2 separate regions of the Homo sapiens genome follow, and region 2 is linked to region 1. Evidence: promoter capture Hi-C in 16 types of primary human blood cells and fetal thymus (Javierre and others, 2016). All regions are on one chromosome and are shown on one strand. The core of a region is centred on a gene start or on the middle of the fragment in contact, and the rest is flanking DNA. Distances in the headings are between cores, read along the strand shown. Region 1 holds the start of ZNF585A (zinc finger protein 585A). Region 2 holds the start of ZNF8 (zinc finger protein 8).

Region 1 (6,568 bases), core at 2,933-5,432:
ACTCCAGCCTGGGCAACAAGAGCAAAACTCTGTCTCAAAAAAAAAAAAAAAAAAAAAAAAGATGTGGCACCCACAACAGTGCTAATTGTGATGATGATGATAATGATGATGATGACTACAGCAAATTTTAGGGACGTGTTTAATGTATACTAGGCCCCTGTTCTAGACTCGTTAAATGTATAAACTCATTCAATTTACATAATGCTTGAGATAGCTACAATTATTATATTCACCTTTTCCACATGAATAATCTGAGTCACAGAGGAATGAAGGAGCTCGCCCAAGATCACAGAGCTAGTCAACAGCACAGAGAGATTCAAACCCAGGACAGATAACTACAGAGTCCATTATACCAACCCCCATGCAATGCTGCCCCTCAAAAGACATCACTAGTATGATCATTCACAGTCTCTGTTATAGTGTTGTATATAATTATGCTGTAGTTATAACAGAGTATAATAGTTATAGCATAGCTATAATGCTTTTCCTGAGAAGGCTGGTTAATCCTACACCTTCACTCCCAGCGCATAAAAATGCATGCATAGCTGGGTGCGGTGGTTCACGCCTGTAATCCCAGCACTTTGGGAGGCCAAGGCAGGTGGATCACCTGAGGTCAGGAGTTCAAAACCAGCCTGGCTAACATGGTGAAACCCCGTCTCTACTAAAAATACAAAAATTAGGCAGGCGCCTGTGATCCCAGCTGAGGCAGAAGACTCGCTTGAACCCGGGAGGCGGAGGTTGCAGTGAGCCGAGATCGCGCCCAGCCGATTTGGAGGGTTTTTTAAAAAGCATATTCCTGCTATCTCGGGTAGCCTGTGTTCTATGTGTATCTGCACCAGTTTATACCTTGCCTTTTCATTCTCTTTACTATCACTTGATGAACAAAAATTATTATTTTAATATAGTCAGTTTTATCAACCTTTTATATATAATACTTTTTTGGTGTTCTGTTTAAGAGATCTTTCCATTGCCACAGAGTCTAAAACACATTTACTAATATTTTTACTAAAAGTCTTAAAGCTATGTTTTTAACATTTGAATCATTAATACACATAGGATTGGTTTTTGCATATGCTACCAATTCAATTTCTTTTATTGTTTTTGGCCTATCCAAATTTTCTTCCTATACATGGCAATTTTCATCTGTGTTTTCCTAGGAAACTTCCTATTTTATTACATTTTCAAATGGATTTCTCAAAATATCCTTAGAATTCTCTTGAGTTTTAAATCTTTCTCTCAGTAGTAATGTTCCTTTTTCTTTCTCATGTTGTTTTCTTTCTCTATTTTTTTCAAAATAGACTTTTTTAATTTTAATTTTATTTTTTTGAGACAGAGTCTTGCACTGTCGCCCAGGCTGGAGTGCAGTGGCGCGATCTCAACTCACTGCAACCTCTGCCTCCCGGGTTCAAGTGATTCTCCTGCCTCACACTCCCGAGTAGCTGGAACTACAGGTGTGCACTGCCACACCCAGCTAATTTTTGTATTTTTAATAGAGACAGAGTTTCACAATGTTGGCCAGGATGGTCTCGACCTCTTGACCTCGTGATCCGCCTGCCTTGGCCTCCCCAAGTGCTGGGATTAGAGGCGTGAGCCACGGGCACCCAGCCTTTAATTTTTATTTTAAGTTCTGGGGTACGTGTGCAGGATGTGCAGGTTTGTTACATAGGTAAACGTGTGCCATGGTGGTTTGCTGCACCTGTCAACCCATCACCTAGGTGTTAAGCCCAGGATGCATTAGCTATTTTTCCTAATGCTCTCCCTCCCGCCACCCCACCCCCAACAGGCCCCAGTGTATGTCGCACCAGGAAACCAAACAAATTGTGTGACTCGCTTTATTGTAGTGGTCTAGAACCAAACCCTAAATATCGCTGAGGTATGCCTGTGTTTGTATAATACTATTGTTATGGAAATAAAAGGGTCTCAATCCAGACTCCAAGAGAGGGTTCTTGATCTCATGCAGGAAAGAATTCCAGGTGGGTTGTAGAGTGCAGTGAGAAGAGATAGTTTATTGAAAGCTACTCCACAACAGAGTAGGGTGTCCTCAGAAAGCAAGTGGAGGAACATCTGTTAAGCTTTTCTTATATAGGGGTCTTGTCTATGTAAAGACTAAAGTAAGCTGTGCCTATGCGTGGGTGGCCTGACATTATGACAAAATTTATTATTCTATTGATTTAAAGAAAACTATCCCTGACATTTTAGTAAGTACATCAAAGTATAACTATAATGATCTTGAAAGCATTTATTGTTATGGGTATTGGACATCTGGACTTTCTGTTGTTCTAGGAGTTTGTCTTTGCAGGCATTACAGGGCTGCTTCCTTCGCTGTAAACACATTAGGACCATGAGTTGTGACTTGCAATGAATGTGCCTTGCTAGTGTCAAGATGGAGCTGAACTTAAAATGGTGTCACTCTGGGTCTCCTAGGTTTCATCTTCCCTAACACTATGACCACACCTGCTGTCTTCTTGATGTTTCCTTGTAAATGTTTTTAATTCCTTTCTTTTTAAATTAGAAATTTACTATGAAAATTTCACACAAATACTATGGAAGAGAACATTATAATGAGTTCTGTCTACTTATCACTCTGCTTTAACATTTATCAACATTTTCTTTTGCAATACCATATACCCCTTCTCAGTGGAGTTTTTTTTTTCTCAGTGGAGTTTTTAAAGCTAATATTATTCCACCCATAAATATTTCCACACGAATCCCTAAAAGTTAAGTCATCTTCTTTTTAACAGAGCTGCATTACTGACAAAATCAACAGTAATTCTTAGCCCCTTGGTAGAAATTGTGTGTTTACTAACGGACTTCCACAGATGTTTCCTTAGACCGTCCTTTCGGAGAAGAAAGAAAACCTGAGATCAGCAGAGTCTAATTCTCTAAACATATTTTTAAGCCGAGTCCCAGAGACAGACATAACTGGCCTGAAGGCATCCAGCATGCCCACATCAGAGTGTAGGTTCAATTCCCTGAAAACAAGTTTCCCACCTGCTGGAACTGAACACATTGGGTAGTAATTTCCCACCACTGTTCAGGTAGAACTTCCTGTCAGAAGCTGAGCTGTGAATCATGTTTAGGAGTTCACCAAGTGAAAGGAATTGTATCTTTACAACTCCTCATCCACACCCTCCAAAAAGGGGAGTAAGGAGGTTTCAGAATTTCCACAGAGGAGAAGCTAAGGGTCAGAGACTGCACTTAAAGCTTCATTGACATGGTAAGGCGATTGTTATTAATTATATTTTAACTTCAAGGTAAATAAAAACAGTCTTCTTTAGGTGCTTTTAGTAACACGTTGGCCATACTAAAGACTATTAGTGTTGTTATTATTGCTGCCTACTATAGTTGCACTTGAGGTATTTAGTGTGGAGGGTAATGGGTGATTCAAATCTCTATTCACCTTCCCACCCGACCCAGCCCTTCAGAAGGGGACGCCCGGACTTCTCCTCCCTCCTCTGGTGGTATCTCCCAGGAGAGGATTGTATTAATACTATTGGACTTCTACCCTATTTCCCAAGGCGGTTTCTCCCATTAAAAGTTGTACCACTCTTCCTGCAGCCTACTACTCATTCAGATGTCTCTCAGACTTTCAGGGTGGTTTCACTCAAGAGATGACTCCCCTAGTGACCTTTCCACCTTTTCCCTGAATGGCGTCTGTAAAAAATGGACTGTACTATCCTGATTCCTCCTATCATCTGCCTGTGGTTTCTCCCAGGATCCCCTTCACTTGGTGATTTTTCCCTGGCTCCTCTATTCCCTGGTAATTATTATCCTCAGTGTCCTGTATTCAGAAAGGTAACTTAGCTTTTCTAAATATAACATACAGCACCAGACCCACATTTCCAGTAACTTTCTCCTCCGAAATAGAAGCCTAGTCAGACAAGGGTCACACTCCAGCATCCTATGTAACTATACCTGCCTCGCTCTAGGAAACCCTGCCAGCGGCCAATTCCTCTGCTCTACGGAATGGATATGCTTTCAAAATGGCGGCCCACGCGAATAAACACCATAAGGGCGCGGCCATGTTCTCTGCCGGACAGCGCCACATTACGGAACCTGTGCGCTGTGTCTGCGCCCTGTTGACTGTTCGAGGAAACTGGCTTCCAAGTTTATTCAGAGCATGCGCCATATCAACAGCCTACAAAGGGGAGGTGCTAGAAGTCGGACCGGAAGTGGAAGTGGTCTTCCAAGGCTTTTTTGCCGCTGGTGTCAGGAGTATTTTCATATTCCAATACCGATAAATCTTTGAGGTGATTTTGGTTGATCACGATTGGGGTTTCTGTGGAGCCAGTAATAGGGGGTGTCGAGGTTGCCTGTGGAGTTAGTGATTGCGGTTTCAGGCTTCGGTGATGGGGTTCTGTGGCGTCCGTTGTTGATTGTGACGGATTTCTCAGGTCATTGATGGAGCTCTTTGGGATGAGTGATTGAGGTTTGGGGGTCAGTGATGGGAGTCTGTGGTCAGTGACAGAGCCTGTAGGGTCAGTTATGGTGATCGGTGAGGACTGTAATCAGCTTGCTTTCTAACCTGAGTTGAAAGTTCAGCTTTTTAATTTTCAGTCTTCTTTAATATAAAAATTCTCAAGTTTTGGTGAATCTTTGTATTAAAAATTGTTCAAATCTAAGTGGTTTTTTCTTTGATCCATGAGTTATTTAGAAGTTCCTTTTTAAAGTAATGTCTGTTTAATGGTCAAATTGAAAAATTGCTTTATGACCTAGTTCGTGGTCAGTTTTCATGAATGTCACATCTATTACATAGAAACAGTGTACTATGTTCTCTAATTGTATTGTTATAGATATTAATTAAGCATATATTCAAAAAATATATCTGTCTCCTCACAGATTATTTTGTCTGCTTAATTACAGAGGAAGGTAAAGTACTCAACTCTGGAAAGGTTATTTGTCCATTTGTCCTTCTTTTTCTGCTTTATATATGTGAAATTATTAGGAATAACTATGTGCACTTTTTTTTTTTTTGAGATGGAGTCTCGCTCTGTCACCCAAGTTGGAGTGCAGTGGCGCGATCTCAGCTCACTGCAACCTCTGCCTAGTGGGTTCAACGGATTCTCCTGCCTCAGCCTCCAGAGTAGCTGGGATTAGAGGCACCCGCCACCACGCCCAGCTAATTTTTTGTATTTTTTAGTAGAGACGGGGATTCACCATGTTGGCCAGGCTGGTCTCAAACTCCTGACCTCAGGTGATCTACCTGCCTCCGCCTCCCAGAGTGCTGGGATTACAGGCGTGAGCCACTGCGCCCGGCATATGTGCATTTTTAATACTTTATAGATATGACTAAGTAGCTCAAAATATAACAATTCAAGCTTATACCAACAATTTATAAAATAACTCATTTTCCCAGATGCTTTTCCAGCAGTGGATATTGTTGCATTTTAAAAGTTTTTAAAATTTTGAGGGAAAATTATATCTAATTGCTCCAATGCATTTTCCAGTTACTAAAGTTGGCATCTTATTTGGTTAATTGCCATTTGTTTCCTTTTCTGTGAATTTTCATATCTTTTGTCCTACTTTTTTTTGTGGTATATTTTAACATAAAGTTAGGAAATATCATCTAATCAAAAGTATCTGATTTTTCTGTTACAGAGTCTGTGTTTCCTCTCACGTGTAATAAGATCCCTCCCAGCCCACCACAGTGTTATACACATGTATACTTCTAAAATTTATTTTAATAGTCTTTGTGATTTAACAAATACACATAATTAAGTGATCAGTCCTGCTGGCATTTGCCTACTGAATAGTGTGTGATGGAGATCTAGTTTGTTTTTTTCCAGGTGGCCAGCCAGTTATATCACTGCATTATATCACTGCCATTTATGCAATGAATGTCTTATGCACACTCATTTGAATACCACTTTTATCACATATATAGATCAATATTGTCTGGTATATTTATTGTTTTACTTGTTTTTATTACATTGTTTTTATATTGTTTTAATATCTGATAATGCATGGTAATCGCTGATATGTATTGTATGATTTTTGTGTGCCTGGGAGGTGTTGAGTACTTTACAAGTATTATCTCATTTAATTTTTGTAACTTTGAGATAAGCATTTTCATCCTCATTTCTGAAATTAAAAGTGAAGAAATGGCTGGGCGCAGTGGCTCACGCCTGTAATCCCAGCACTTTGGGAGGCAGAGGCGAGCGGATCAGGAGGTCAGGAGATCCAGACCATCCTGGCCAACATGGTGAAACCTCGTCTTTACCAAAAATTAGCTGGACATGGTGGCGCATGCCTGTAATCCCAGCTACTTGGGAGGCTGAGGCAGGAGAATTGCTTGAACCTGGGAGGCAGAGCTTGCAGTGAGCCGAGATCGCACCACTGCACTCCAGCCTGGCGACAGAGCGAGACTCCGTCTCAAAAGAAAGTGAAGAAACTTCTGTTCTCATAGGTGAAAAGTGTCAGAGCTGCAGTTCAAATCTGCAGTAACATTACTCCATCTCTCATGACTTTTCCCATATTTCACCGTAACTAATACCTATCACAGATTTTGTTAAATTTTATGTTCTCCTCAGCGCTGGTTCTCAAAGTGTGGTCCCTGTACTGACAGCAT
Region 2 (6,568 bases), core at 3,049-5,548, about 21 Mb before region 1:
TGCTTGTAATCCCAGCACTTTGTGAGGCTGAGGCAGGCAGATCACTCGAGTCCAGGAGATCAAGACTGGCCTGGGCAACATGGTAAAACCCTGCCTCTACAAAAAAAATTTGAAAAAAATTAGCCAGGCTGCCTGTAGTCCCAGCTACTTGGGAGGCTGATGTAGGAGGAGTGCTTGAGTCTGGAAAGTGGAGGTTGCAGCAAGCCAAGATCATGCCACCGCACTCCAGCCTAAGCAACCAGAGTGACATCCTGTCTCAAAGAAAAAAAAAAGAAGAGAAAAAAAAGAAATAAAATAAAATAGAAACAAAGCCATAAATGTAAGAGGCTGGGCGCAGTGGCTCACGCCTGTAATCCCAGCACTTTGGGAGGCTGAGACGAGTGGATTGCCTGAGCTCAGGAGTTCGTGACTAGCCTGGGCAACATGGTGAAACACCATCTCTACTAAAATATCAAAAATTAGCCGGGCGTGGCAGCGTGCTCCTGTAGTCCCAGCTACTTGGGAGGCTGAGGCAGGAGAATTGCTTGAACCCAGGAGGCAGAGGTTGCAGTGAGCCGAGATCATGCCATTGCACTCCAGCCTGGGCGACACAGTGAGACTCCATCTCAAAAAAAAAAAAATTAAATTAAATTAAAAGTAAGAGCTAAAACTATAAAACTCTTAGAGGAAAACAGAGAGATAAATCTTTGTAACCTTGGATTTGGCAAGGGATTCTTAGATATGAAACCAAAAGGATAAGCAACTAAATGTAATCAATTGGACTTCATCAAAACAAAAACTTTTGTAGTTCAAAGGACATTAGCAAGAAAGTGAAAAGACAACTCACAGAATGGGAGATAATAATTGGGAATCACATATCTGATAAGAGACTTGTATCTAGAATATGTAATGAACACATACAACTCAGTAATAAAAAGACAACCCAGTTAAAATAGGCAAAGAATCTGTATAGTTATTTCTTTGAAGAATATATAAAAGAAGATACACAAATGGCAAATAAGTACATGAAAAGATGTTCAACATCATTAGTCATCAGGGAAATGAAAAATCAAAACTATACACCACCAGTGTTGCTGCTAGGTTAAAAAACAAAACAAAACCACATATACTAAATACTTCAATTTTTTTATTTTTTATTTTGAGACAGGGCCTCACTCTGTTGACCAGGCTGCAGTGCAGTGGTGCAATCTCGGTTCACTGCGACCTCCATCTCCCTGGTTCATGTGATTCTCCCACCTCAGCTTCCCAAATAACTGGGATTACAGGCATGTGCCACCAAACCCAGCTAATTTTTGTACTTTTAGTAGAGATGGGGTTGCACCACGTTGGCCAGGCTGGTCTTGAACTCCTAACCTGAAGTGATCCATCTGCTGTGGCCTCTCAAAGTGCTGGGATTACAGGCATGAGCCACTGCACCAGGCCCCAAATACTTCAATTTTAAAAGGACATTTCCTTTTAAGAAAAACATGAGTAGATTAAAAAATAAGAAAGAAATTTTAGTACAGGTAGCAGGTGGCTCTAATAGGAAACATACAGAAAGATGCCTTTGGTTGGGAACTGAGGTCTCTGCTCCTGTCTCTGTGTCTTCGCTTTCCTCCACTCAGAATGCCCACCAATTTTGATTTGTGCTTCCCGTGCCTCCTGCCCCCACCTCCCATCATCACCCATTCTGCAAGAGTCACTGGTGACAGCCTAGACACCACGTCCACTGAGTACTGGTCTGTCCAAGCCATGAGAATTCTCAGTGGCATCATACAAGTCCTTCATGCCTCCTCTTGGCTTCCTTCTTGGAATTCTAGCAGAAGCCCACTCCTTGTTGTCTCATGATGTTCTTTCTGCCCTACATCAGATCCCTGCAGCCTTCCCTCTTGTCTTGCACTTCTGGAGCCTGAAGGGGTGGGGCTGTGCTCTGATGTTTCTCCTTTACATATTCTTTTCACCCCAGCATCAGCCAACACCTGGTCACTGGGCCTAACCACTCCTCTCTTTTTCCCACTGCCTTAGTTGAGCTGCCAGTATCTCCCTTCCCACCAGCCCCTAATGCATAAGTGGATTTTTTCAACCCTATGCCAGTCCTGCTTAAAACACGTGAATGGCTCCTTCTCATCACTGAATACTGGATGGCTCCTCTCAGCCTGGCTATGGTAGACTGAGATATATAATGGCCTCCAAGGATATCCAGGTCCTAGTTCCTAGAACCTGTGAATATTACTATATATGGTAAAAGGAACTGTGCAGATGTGATTAGGATTTTCAAACAGAAAAATTATCCTGGATTATCCAGGTGGGCCCTAAATGCAATCACAAGTGTCTTTATAAGAGGTAGACAAAGGGAGCTATGACTATAGAAGACATAAGGCAATATGATCACTGAAGCAACATGCTACAATGCAGGCTTTGAAGACAGGCAAAGGGCCATGAGGCAAGGAATAGAAGGTCTGTACCTCTCACAGCTGGAAAAGACGAGGAAACATTCTACCCTAGAACCTTGGTAGGGAGGGTAGCTCTGCTCATACCTTGATTCCAGACCAGAAAACCGATTTCAGACTTCTGACCTCCAGAACCTAAGAACAAATGTTTTAAGCCACAAAATTTGTAGTGAATTGTTACAGCAGACACAGATAACCAGATAAAACACTGGACCTTGAAGCTCTCCATTCTGGTCCTTGTCTCCTGTGATGGACAGTCTCCAAGATGCTCCCCCACCACCTCTGCCAATGACCTCCAGCCCTGGTGTGGTCCCCTCCAACACTCAACAAGGTTGACTTTGTAACCAGTAAGACACCGTGGAAGTGACAAGAGTGTGAATTCTGAATCCAGGTCATGGAAGGTGTTACAGTTTCTACCTTGCCCTCTCCTGGATCACTTGTTCTGTGGGAAGCCAGATGCCATGTTGCAAGGATCCCTAGCAGTTCCAAAGAGAGGCCTACATGGAGAACAACTGAGGTCTCCTATCAACAGACATGTGAGTGAGCCATCCTGGAGGTGGATCCTCCAGACTCAGGTCTCAGGTGACAACAGCTATGCTGACATCTTCACTGTAACTTCATGGGCCTGAACCAGAACCACCAGCTAGGACATTCCATTACTCCTGTCAGAACTCGTGAGATATTTATTGTTGTTCCAGGTCACGAAGTTTTGAGTTACACAGCAACAGGTAACTAATACACTTTCTCTCAAGCCTTTCTTACGACTCATTCCTTGTCCCCCATCCACAGCAAGAACAAAATAAAACGTGGTAGCATTTCATGCAAATTTGGAGCAACACACATCTGAAAACCTGCAACCTAAGATTATCAAGTCTCACTTTGTGTACCAAATCTGAAATAATGCAAATCCCCATGAACAAACCAACGACAAAAAATAAAAAAAAGTATAATTTCAAAGTTGCAGAGCTTGAGGAAGGATAATTATTGTTGTTTCCTGCCACGCGAGGCAGCTTTATGGAGAACACAGGCCGCAACCACTTTGTCTAGAAAGTGGAGCTCTGATGGCCAGATGGCCCTGCAAACACTGACCGCCCTGCACTGCAGTTCTCCCACAGTCTCGCAGGGGACGACCCTGGTGGTCACTCTCATCACACTCAGTGCGTGGTGACCCATCATTGCCCCCAAGAGGTTGTGCCCAAGCCCCAGGGCAGGGGCTCCGCGGTGCTGGGGTCCCGGTGGGTGTCCGCTGACTCCACGCGTTAAAGCATCTCTATTCGATGATTCTTGCCATCTGGGCACCCGGCCAACGCTACAATTACTGTTATCAGTCAACACGAGGACAGACCTTCCTGGAATGGGCAAGGGTGTCGGCGGGGCGGAGCAGAACGCAGGAGATGGGCCTGCTCGATTCTCTCGGGAATGACCGACCCCAGCCCTGGGGAGGACAGAGCCGCGTGGAGCATGCGCATTCGGGGGCCAGGCGCCTGGTTGGAATCCCGGCCCCCTCTCTGACCAGCCAGGACGGTCACCACGCCCCGACCCGCGTCTGAGTTTCCCCACGTGTCAAGGGCATTAACAGCGGTGCCGCTCTCATCGCGCCGCGAGGTGAAAGGGTCAGTCTGCGCGGGAGACGCTTGCCCGGAGCCCGCCGCCGTCGTTATTGTTGTTATTGTTACCTGAAGCCGGGCCGCCGGCGGCCCCACAGACATCACTCCCGCTACCCCTTCGTCCTCGGGGTCCATGCTGGATCGCCCAGTGAAGGACAGCGCCTGAGGTGATCCCCAGACCAGAGAGGCACTCCAGCCAAAGGGACCACCCGACTCGCCGAACGCCGGACAATGGCGGCCGCACCGGCGACGCGGCGACTACAACTCCCAGTAGGCCGTGCGGCGAACCACAGCCCTCGGCCAATGGGAGTCTCCGCTGGTCTGGCCTTCGACCAATGGAAGCATTATGGCCGATGGCCAATGGGAGCCCCCACCCGCTGGCCTCTGGCCAATGGGAGCACTCAGCTAAGGCTGGTGGGGGCGGTGTTGCTCGGGGCTGCGATGCCCCTTAGGTTGCGGGCAACCAGAGGCCTCACTCGTGGGCAGGAAGCAAGGGCGGACCCCGAGAGATGACTGATTGTGGGGGTGGGGACCGTCTGCTCCTCCTAATGGCTGGGGACCGTGCACGTCTGCGCGGGCCGGACCTGCTCTTCTCGGGAACTTGCGCGGGAGGAGGCCCGGAGCTGCGCCGCTTTACCCTCTGCTCCCCGGTGCCTAAAACGCACACGCATCAAAGTCACAGGACGAGTTAGAGGTTTGTTCATATAAAAGACTTTGGGCTTAGCGGCTGGAAGCGGGGAGGCTGGGAGCGGTGGTTGTGTTACAGGAAAGGGGTCCGATTCAGACCCCAAGGGAGGGTTCTTGGATCTCGCGCAAGAAAAAATTCAGGGCGAGTCCGCAGTGCAAAGTAAAAGCAAGTTTGTTGAGAAAGTAAAGTTGTGAAACAGCTACCCCATAGACAGTAGGACGTTCCTGAAAGTAAGAGGAACGTATGCACCCTAGGTACAATGCTTGTGTATATTTGGGCTAAAAATAGATTTTGGGGAGATGTGCTCTGCTACAAGGGTTTGTGAAAAAGGATTAATTTTCTTACTGTATTTTTCAAGAATCGATATTATTTTTAAAGCAAAATTAGGAATGCCTTTGTTCTCTAGATACCGGGATATCTGGACACTCCCAAGTCTGGGTCTGTTTTAGTACCCATTATTAATTTGTTCCCTTAACCGTAAACATCTAGAGGTTAGGAATACCTACTTTTCTGGGAATGCAGCCCAGCCTCATTTTCCTAGCCCTCACTCAAAATGGAGTCGCTCTGGGTCGAATGCCTCTGACAGCCCTATTGCTTCTCCCTGTGGGTGTTCACTTTGTGATGTGTCTTTTTCTGTGGGTCTGTTGTAGTCCATTAAAATGTTTATTAAAGGTCGGGCGCGGTGGCTAACGCCTATAATCCCAGCACTTTGGGAAGTCGAGGCGGGTGGATCACGATGTCAGGAGCTCGAGACCAACCTGGCCAATATGGTGAAACCCCGTCTCTACTAAAAATACAAAAATTAGCCCGGCGTGGTGGCGGGCACCTGTAGTCCCAGCTTCTCGGGAGGCTGAGGCAGGAGAATCGCTTGAACCTGGGAGGCGGAGGTTGCCGTGAGCCGAGGTCAGGCCACTGCACTCCAGCCTGGGTGACAGAGCAAGACTCCGTCTCAAAAAAAAAATAAAAAGTTATTAAAAAAGAAAAATGGGGAAGCAGATTTCCATTCAAAAATGTTGCATTCAAACCACAACAATTTTTAACTTTTTTAAATTTTACCAAGAGCCAGACACATAGCAGGGAACAGTATAGTTACTTGTTATTTGCTCACCCCCATGGGGCTGATGGTGTAGTCTGAGGGACTGAAGATCAACCATGACATGGCCCTTCACACCGTGTTGAAGGGGTGAAGACGTTACCAGTGGGGACGGAGGAGCTGACTCCCGAGGGGCTCAAGCTGGCCACACTCTCTCAGATCCTTCTGGCCGACTCCTGAGGGCTCAAGCTGGCCACACTCTCTCAGATCCTTCTGGCCCTGTACCGTCTCTGCTTTTTGCTGGGCCTCGTTCCTGAGAAGGAGCAGGTGTTAGGCAAGTTACACAAAATTATGAGAGGACATGGTTTTGGACTGAGCTCCTGCTCTAGGCCTCATGAGACCAGACCAAACCAAGACAGAGTCACTTAGGCTAAATGCCACATAATCAGACTGATACTTTAAGCAGGTAGATCCCTAAACAAACCAGATTTCCAGTCTACCTGAGCAGCATAATAAGGAAGTCCCCTCTGCTTTAATCCTTACAAGAAAAGTAACCTAGTGTTAACTAATTAGCCTTTTCTCTATCTTACAAAAACCACTATTCTACCATTTGCCCCGTGGGAGCTCTCATTCCGTTTTGCAGAGTGGAGGCTGCCCAGATTCATGAATCACAAATAAAAGCCAATTCGATCTTTAACCAAATTTGTTAAAATTCTGTCTTTTGGCTGGGTGTGGTGGCTCACGCCTGTGAGTGAATCCCAGCACTTTGGGAGGCTGAGGTGGGTGGATCACCTGAGGTCAGGAGTTTGAG

The links. The method cuts DNA at HindIII sites, captures the fragments that hold promoters and counts their contacts. A CHiCAGO score of 5 or more calls a contact.
Region 2: a contact is called between the fragment with the promoter of ZNF8 here and the fragment with the promoter of ZNF585A in region 1, in 1 of 17 cell types (total CD4 T cells). The highest score is 5.8, in total CD4 T cells.

What each region holds. Positions count from the first base shown.
Region 1 is chr19:37,170,309-37,176,876 of GRCh38, reverse strand. ZNF585A (zinc finger protein 585A) reads left to right here and starts at 4,182. Exons shown (of 5, transcript NM_001288800.2): 1 at 4,182-4,250. RefSeq lists enhancers at 3,956-4,250, 4,092-4,281. The HindIII fragment of the contact is 2,114 bases long and covers 3,207-5,320 here.
Region 2 is chr19:58,276,685-58,283,252 of GRCh38, reverse strand. ZNF8 (zinc finger protein 8) reads right to left here and starts at 4,298. Exons shown (of 4, transcript NM_021089.3): 1 at 4,106-4,298. The coding sequence starts at 4,171. ZNF8-DT (ZNF8 divergent transcript) reads left to right here and starts at 4,511. Exons shown (of 3, transcript NR_187495.1): 1 at 4,511-4,730. ZNF8-ERVK3-1 (ZNF8-ERVK3-1 readthrough (NMD candidate)) reads right to left here and starts at 4,287. Exons shown (of 7, transcript NR_144447.1): 1 at 2,644-4,287. It also overlaps a transcript of ZNF544 not described here. RefSeq lists enhancers at 3,703-3,752, 4,173-4,222. The HindIII fragment of the contact is 22,069 bases long and covers 1-6,568 here.